Linked DNA regions of Homo sapiens: region 1 is linked to region 2. Evidence: promoter capture Hi-C in human tissues and cell types (Jung and others, 2019). All regions are on one chromosome and are shown on one strand. The core of a region is centred on a gene start or on the middle of the fragment in contact, and the rest is flanking DNA. Distances in the headings are between cores, read along the strand shown.

Evidence for each region. Contacts are between HindIII fragments. The study calls those that stand out against the background at their distance.
Region 1: a fragment that was not itself captured here is called in contact with the fragment with the promoter of PLEK2 in region 2 in 1 of the 25 tissues and cell types used here (lymphoblastoid cells).

Annotation. Positions count from the first base shown.
Region 1 is chr14:66,393,159-66,397,430 of GRCh38, reverse strand. No RefSeq gene overlaps it. Among named protein-coding and RNA genes, the nearest start is that of CCDC196, 91 kb to the left of the region's middle. The HindIII fragment of the contact is 7,387 bases long and covers 1-4,272 here.
Region 2 is chr14:67,409,160-67,413,577 of GRCh38, reverse strand. It overlaps PLEK2 (pleckstrin 2), which reads left to right and starts at 1,413. Exons shown (of 9, transcript NM_016445.3): 1 at 1,413-1,560. The coding sequence starts at 1,519. It also overlaps a transcript of GPHN not described here. The HindIII fragment of the contact is 7,301 bases long and covers 1-4,418 here.

The sequences.
Region 1 (4,272 bases), core at 938-3,437, 1.0 Mb after region 2:
AGGAATCGCCACACTGACTTCCACTATGGTTGAACTAGTTTACAGTCCCACCAACAGTGTAAAAGTGTTCCTATTTCTCCACATCCTCTCCAGCACCTGTTGTTTCCTGACTTTTTAATGATTGCCATTCTAACTGGTGTGAGATGGTATCTCATTGTGGTTTTGATTTGCATTTCTCTGATGGCCAGTGATGATGAGCATTTTTTCATGTGTCTTTTGGCTGCATAAATGTCTTCTTTTGAGAAGTGTCTGTTCATATTCTTCACCCACTTTTTGATGGGGTTGTTTGTTTTTTCTTGTAAATTTGTTTGAATTGATTGTAGATTCTGGATATTAGCCCTTTGTCAGATGAGTAGGTTGCAAAAATTTTCTCCCATTTTGTAGGTTGCCTGTTCACTCTGATGGTAGTTTCTTTTGCTGTGCAGAAGCTCTTTAGTTTAATTAGATCCCATTTGTCAATTTTGGCTTTTGTTGCCATTGCTTTTGGTGTTTTAGACATGAAGTCCTTGCCCATGCCTATGTCCTGCATGGTATTGCCTAGGTTTTCTTCCAGGGGTTTTATGGTTTTAGGTCTAACATGTAAGTCTTTAATCCATCTTGAATTAATTTTTGTATAAGGTGTAAGGAAGGGATCCAGTTTCAGCTTTCTCCATATGGCTAGCCAGTTTTCCCAGCACCATTTATTAAATAGGGAATCCTTTCCCCATTTCTTGTTTTTGTCAGGTTTGTCAAAGATCAGATGGTTGTAGATATGCGGCATTATTTCTGAGGGCTCTGTTCTGTTCCATTGGTCTATATCTCTGTTTTGGTACCAGTACCATGCTGTTTTGGTACTGTAGCCTTGTAGTATAGTTTGAAGTCAGGTAGCGTGATGCCATATCCACTTTTTAATTATTTGTGATGAAAGGAAACTTGGATATCTCCTAAAATGATGTGAAATTTTTCTAAAGGTGACTTTAAAGGAATTTTACTCTTTGCTTTAATAATGTAAATCAGCAGCAAAAATGGGCTGTATAAGGTACTTTCCAACTTGCTATGAGAACTTAAGATTGCCTAAAATGATGAGTAAACAAAAAAGAACAATGTGAAGTGAGCTTTATGAAAACTTCAATGTCTCAAAAAAAGCATTTGCTTATGACATTGTAGTATCATGACCTGAAGATCGGACAACTGCCTCCCTGAGGGCCACCAGGGATATACACATTCTCACGGACTTCCACGACCATTTGTGGGTATCAGCATCTCTAATCATCAAGAAGAAAAATAGTGTGATGGCCTTATTTTCATCTTAGGACTTCATTAATTTTTCTTCACTAAGTGATGAAGTCGAATTATTTTTGGGAAAGAAGTAGAGCTTCATCCTGAGAGTACTGTTGGACAATTTGGCCTTTCCTATCAATTATCTGTAACTCAAACAATCTGAGAAGATAGACAGGCTCAGAATTCTCAGTAAATAATATAAAAATGGAAGCTCACAGATTCCTTTTGACCAAATGTTCTCTAAACTTAATGTTTGCCGTAGAAATTGAACATGTGGTCCTCAGGGAGATTGACTCAATAGGTCTTCAAAGCCAGTAGATGCTTCCAAAATGTTATAGTGTTATAACTTAACCCTCCTCCCCCATTATTTTTTAAAGTCTTGGCTCACTTCTCGGTCATGTCCTTTTTTGGACCCTAAATCTTAATTCGTATTACCTCTCAAAGGGAGAAACATACCATTTCATAACATTAAACACACACACTAAAAGCTGCCTTACAGGTAATGATCTTTAAGCTTCCTTCAGTTTAGCAGTCACCTGGAGTGTCTGTTTTCTAGCTGAGGTTCTGAACTCCCACAGAGGGTTATGAGGCTGTAAACAACTTACTTGTAACTATACTTAAATATGACAATGGGGAACTCCTGAAGATGGCAGCAGCACTTTAAATTTCACCAGACCAGGAAGGGCCTGTGGTTAACACAACCAGAAATCAAATGATGCTGGCAGATTCCTGTTTGTCACCCCTGCTGCACTCAACATTTTCAGCCACTAGTTCAGATTTCAACTTTACTTCTTTGAGCTTTGCACACAACGTGGAGCATAGAAAGAGGGACTTAAAGCCAGAGAAATGTGTATCTAATTCCCCTTTTATCAAAGGAGGGGTTTTTTAAACCTTTCAATGTCACCAGCCCCTCTACTTTCCTCCTAAACATGGCTTCTCTCTATACTTGAGTGTGAACGGAAGGAATAGACACAGAGATTGTAGAGCATACACTGATTTTAAAAGTGATATTACTCTCCTTTGTCTAGTTACACTATTAGACAAGGAATGAACAAATTATTCCTTCTTGCTTTCTGTTTCCAGAAATGCCCATTAAAGAAAATTAATGTTTATTCTGTAATTGCTGAAAACTGTAAGTTGCAATGCCTACGTGTAAGAGGTATCTATAAATACAAATCTGAGTCTTTCCCACTTGATTTGAAAAGCTATATTATTCATATAATTTTCTATGTGAAGCTGAAGATCTAAAACATATTTTCTAGGCTGGTTATTATGTTTACATTTATAAGTATTTTTAACTTAATTAGATGTTTAAATTGTAAAGACAATATGAGCTTATATAAAAAGTCAAACAATTCATAAACATATATAGATGGTAATTCCTCTGCTCTATCCTACTTCCTCAGGTAACTGTCAAATAGGCTAAAAAAATTCACACAAAAAAGTGAGATTGTATTGTACACAGTACTGCAACTTTCTCTGGATCAAGAGATACAGATTGAACTCACATAATAGCTGAATACTATTCCATAATATGAATGTAACTTAACTTAATTTATTCAGCCATAGCTCCTGTGATAGACACTTATTTCCAGTTTTGCCATCACCACAAGCAATGCTGCACTTTCATTATGCCTTTTCTACTGATGCTTTTATTCTTGTAGGCTAGAGTACCCAAAGTGGAATGTTGCACAGAGGGTTTTATGTACTTTAAGTTTTAGTGCATACTGCAGGATTACCTTCAAAAAATGCTGCAACAATATATGAGTGAATATATGAGGATTTATTTGCCCCCATCCTTACCAGCACTTGATGTTACCAATATTTAAATTTTTTTGCCGACCTGATGGGTAGAAAATGGTATCATGTTTGAACCTGCATTTCCCTGGCAAGATTGCATGGCATAGTATCTTAACAGCATGGACCTAGGACCCAGTTCCCTGGCTGTGCAGTGTACTAGCTGCATACTGTGTGGTCTTCACAAATTACATAAATTCTCTGTGCTTCAGTTTCATCTTTCCCATCAAAAATGGGGAAAATAATACCACTTGCCACATAGGATTATTATTGGGATTAATTGAGATAACATTTGCAAAGACTTAGAATGATGCCTGGTGCTTAGAGCAGTGCCTGACATATATTAAGCACTATATGAACTAAATGAATGCATTCTAGTGATGGGGAACATCTTTTCATACATTTACAACTATTTGCATTTCTTCTATTAAATACAAATGTCAAAATATTCAATTTTTAGTGTAAAAATGAATCCTGTTGGGATTTTTTCTTATAAATTTATTACATAATAATATTACAATAATTATTTCCAATAATAATAATGTAAGAAACAGATCTCTGTGGAGTGTATCACAATGTCAGGGTCAGGAGGCCTCAGGACTGGAACAGGGGGCGAAATCCCCCCAGATGGAACTCCATACAAAAGCAGGGGTGAAGCAGAGCTGACCCTGTAAAGTTAAAAACCCAAGTTGAATGGAACCAAAAACCCACAGGTGATTGTGAGACTGAGTGTTTATGTAGCAGTCTATTACACTGACTGCTGTTGTGTGACCTGGACTGTTGGTGGAAGGGTGAGTGGGTGTGACTCTGTACCCAGGGAGTGGGGCTGGTGGGCCAGAGCAGGGTGGGTAATATGCTTATTACCTGGGCGATGAAATGTGTATACCAGTCACCCTCAACATGCAATTTACCCATGTAACAAACCTGCACATGTACCCTCTGAACCTAAAAGTTAGAAAGAAATTTTTCTTTTTGCAGCGCCCCAGATGTTTCAGGCAGCTTCATGTCTCCAGATTGTCTCACCTGATGTTTCCTTTGTGTTCTCCCTCATTAAAAAAAAAAAAGAAGAAGAATGGCTTTTTTTTTCCCACTTTTGAAATCAGATCACTCTTGGGGAAAAGGACAGCAATCTCCACACCCCTTCTCTGAGAAATGCTCCCCTGCTTGGAAATGCCAGATGCAGAGAAGAATTTTGCTGAAATGTTTGAATGAGAA
Region 2 (4,418 bases), core at 164-2,663:
GGACTGGCCTGGGAGCTGGCTTCAGTCTGGTTCTGAAAGGCACCCCCCGCCTTCCACAAGCTGGTTCACCTTCTTCCTCTCTAGAGCCTTCTCTTCCCTTACAGGCATCTGAGGGCCTTTCCCATGCCTGGTGAAGAGTCCTGACAGGGCCCTTCAAACTGGAGCACAAATAATATGGACCGGCCCCATGACTCATGCCCACAATCCCAGCACTTTGGGAGGCTGAGGCAGGAGGACTGCTTGAGCCCAGGAGTTCGAGACCAGTCTGGACAATATAGTGAGACCCTGTCTCTATAAATAAAAATAAATTTTAAAAAAATGTGTGACTGTGTTCTAAGGATTGTTAGACAGAATCAGTACTATTTGACTGAGTTTCCTTCTGTTCCAGGCTCCAATATGGCCTGATAGAACATTGTTGTTGATCCTATCTATTTAAAATGTTAGCATTTTGTTCATCGTGGATTTTTTGACATTAATTTTGATTTTAAAAAATGCATTAAAATATTATTTTTCTAGGTCTTACACGGTGGCTCTTGCCTGTAATCCCAGCACTTTGGGAAGCCCAGGCCGGAGGATTGCTTGAGGCCAGGAATCAAGACCAGCCTGGGCAACATAGCAACACCCTATCTCTACGAAAAATAAAAATAAACCAGCCAGGCATGGTGGTGCACTCCTGTAGTCCTAGCTACTTGGGGAGCTGAGGCAGGAGGATCTTAAGCCCAGAGTTTAAGGCTGCAGTGAGCTATGATCACACCACTGCACTCCAGCCTGGGTGACAGAGAAAGACCCTGTCTCAAAAAACAAACAAAAAACCCCAAAAAACCAATCATCTCTCTCTATATATAATTTGTCTAGGTTACTGGACTCCTTGGTGCCCCCTTAAATTTTGTCCTTAATGATGGAATTTTCGGCTTCATCTTTTTTGAGGGAGCGGGGTATATCCTGCGGACAGGGGGCCCTGCAAACTGTGCCTGCCGCCTTAAAACTGTGACCTTCCTGTTACTGAGAGGTCTTCTCTGCCCCCATCAGAGGCCAGGATAAAATTCCCATACCAGTTTCGGCTCACCCACTGTCCCATCTCCTACTTGCAATGAGCTCAGGAATGGCTCCAAATCCTGGAGTCCTGTCGGTTATGTTCAATTCGATAAGCGTTCCTCGAGGGCAATGCGCTAAGTGCCCGGGAAGCACCTGGCGAAGGACGCTGAGCAGAGAGACTGGAACAGTGAGGGGCGCGGGGCGCACCTGGATGGGGCGGGGTTGGCCGCTCTGTACCTGGAGGACCAACCACCGACCCTGGAGCACCTTTGGGTGGAAACGTCACGTCAGAAATCCCGACTTGGTCTGACTTCCTGCCCCGGGGCCTCAGGCTCTGGACACGCGCCAGGGAGGCGTCGCCCTGCCGCGTCGGAGCTGCTTCCTGGGCGCCGTGGGCGCGGACTGCGCGGGCTGCGCGGGTGCCGAGGAGCGCGAGGCGCGGGGAAGGCGCACCTGGGGTGGCCCTGGCGTGCGGGCGGCGACATGGAGGACGGCGTGCTCAAGGAGGGCTTCCTGGTCAAGAGGGTGAGTGCGCGTCGAGCTTCGGGACATTGCCCGGGTGGGGCCCCGCCGACGCGGCTCCCTAGAGCGGGGCCAGACGCGCGCCCCGGAACGGGCATGCTCTGGTTCCCATCCCCAACCCCCATGGTGGGACCGGGCCGCCTGTGGCCCTGATGGGCAGAGCTGCATGTCCGAGGGGACGCGGGGTAAGCGGTGGCTCAGCGCACAGGCAAGGAGGAGAATCCCACTTGGTTAGCGCAGTATGGAGTCGGGGCAGGGGTACTGAAGCGTGTGTCTTAATTAAAACTTGTTAAAATATTATGAATGGTATGATATTTAAATAATATTTACTAAGATAATATAGGCGTGCTCTGTAATTTACAACCTGTGAAGGAGGAATGCTACTATGTGTCTTAAGCACTTACTGTTGGCCAGCCCTGGATATTGTCTCATGTCATCCTCCCAGCAGCCCTGCTTTCATCAAGGGGGAAAACGAAGCCCAGAGGAGTTAGGGAACTTGCTCGGGGCGGTGAAGGCAGTGGGTGGTGGAGCCAGGATCGGGATCAGACCCACTCAGGTTGACCCAAACCTTTACTGCCTCCCCAGTGCCATACACGGTGGGTACTGACATCACTCTATTACAGACGGGGAAACTGAGGACCAGAAAGATGAAGTAGCTTGCCCAGAGCTCCAGAGCCAGTAATAGCTGGGACAGGAACTGCATGTTCTGACCTCCCCTCCTCAGTCCTTCCCCACCACCCCAGGTGGCCCAGGGCAAACGAGTGCAAACAAAAACTCAGTGCCTGGGATTATGGTAGAAGATGAACAAAAGAGCAGCTGCAAAAGGAAGTTTGTTATTTCAAAATTTTTTCCTGATTTGACCTTTTTTTTTTTTTTTTTTTTTTGAGACAGGGTCACCCAGGCTGGAGTGCAGTGGCACAATCCTGGCTCACCACAGCCTCGACTTCCCAGGCTCAGGTGGTCCTCTCACCTCAGCTTCCCTAGTAGCTGGGACTACAGGTATCCACTACTATGCCCAGCTAATTTTTGTATTTTTTTGTGGAGACAGGGTTTCGCCATGTTTCCCAGGCAGGTCTTGAACTCCCGGGTTTAAGTCATCTGCCCACCTTAGCCTCCCAAGGTGCTGGGATAACAGGCGTGAGCCACCACACAGAGCGTAATTTGAACAATGACATTAACACTAACCATTTATACTGCTATGATGGCATAGCAAAGAGACATATAAATCCAGGGCTGAGCTTTCTGGTTCTTCTACTGAGTTTTCAGCTTTGGGAGGGGAATGAAGAGGGATGAGGGGCCCTTCCTTTCATTGCCTCCCGGGGTGGCTGGATCAGCCCTAAAGTCTCACATCACTTTCATTTTCCCCACAAAATGTGTCCACATGATGTTGCACGTTATTTGGTACAGGAGAGCGGTGGCTGTTTGCTGTAAACAGTAAGCAAGGAGGGTAGAAGCTGATGCCAGATCAAGGGTCAGACTGGATAGAGCAGTACAAAGCGCCACGCCCACTTGCCACTGTGGCTGAACTGATAGGCCGGTTTCTCGCAGCATGTGGAGGTGGCTGCACCTCAGACTACACATGGGGAGCTCCTAATCTCACATTTAACTGCGGCTTGGGAGGTGGGAGGGAGAGTGAGAGCTGGGCACGGGGCTTTTTGTTGGCACTGTTGATATAGCTGGGCCCTGGTAGAGCCTGTGGAGGGATGAAGTTAACATGGAGACAGATCCTTCTGATAGAGCTTTGGGAGTTTTGGAGGCCTTCTCCTGTTCCTGGGGGTTACCTTCCATCATTCCCTATCACCCCCACCATGCTGAGAGTCAGAGGAGGGCTAAGGGCAGAGCCACAGAGCTCCCAGGATATCACCAGGAGGATGGGACTTCTCTTCTGGGTGGCCTGGTTAGGGAATCCAGGGTGCAGAAAATGAGGAGAGTCAACAGATCTGGTCCCCGTAAGCCCTTGGAAAAGACGGGGCTTGGCTGAAATACCTAGAGCTCATTCCAGCCAGACCCAAAGACTGGGATGGAGCCTGACCCTGAGGCAAGCAGAAGTCACACCCCTCCCTGCAGGCTGAAGGATAGGGCCCCAGAACCCTGTTGTGGTCCCAGTCTGCTGAGTAATCCCAACTTTTTCAACCCTCCATATCCCCTCTACTCTTAGATGGCAATAGCATTCCCTATGTCCACTGGAGAAGTTGCAGGCTGTGGCAGGGGGATTCCATAGTCTTAGGAGAGTTAAGAGCTCAGAGGTGGGGCAGGGCCTGCGTTGGAAGCCGGAGTGCAGAGCAGTCATCACCGGTGAAAGCGAAGCCAGAGACAGGCAGGGACATGATAGAGTTGGCTCTTAATCCCACCCAGACGAGAAAGAAGCAGAGTTCCAGGCAAAATGCAAGGAGCTCACTGGGCCTGGCTGTCAGGGGAGTGGGGAGAGGGAAGTGGGGGATGAGCCGTGAGCAGGAGTGCTTTTCCTGGGAGAAGAGACAGAAGCACTGCCGGGCGTTCCTGCTGGGCTCATATTGTGAATAACATTGCAATGTGAACATGCTCTGGCCTAGAGATTTTATGTGCAGGGCTCTATCCTTTTTTGTAAAGCTCTGTAAAAGCTTTATAACAAAGAGTTATTTTTATTTTATTTTGTATTTTTGTAGAGATGAGGTCTCACTCTGTTGCCCAGGCTGGTCTCAAACTCCTGGCTCAAGTGATCCCCTGGCCTTGGCCTCCCAGAGTGCTGAGATTAGAGGTGTGAGTCACCACACCCCCCTGTTACTTATTTATTTTGTTTAGAGAGGGTCTCACTCTGTTGCCCAGGCTGGAGTACAGTGGCATCAGCAAGGCTCACTGCAGCCTTGACCTCCCAGGCTCAA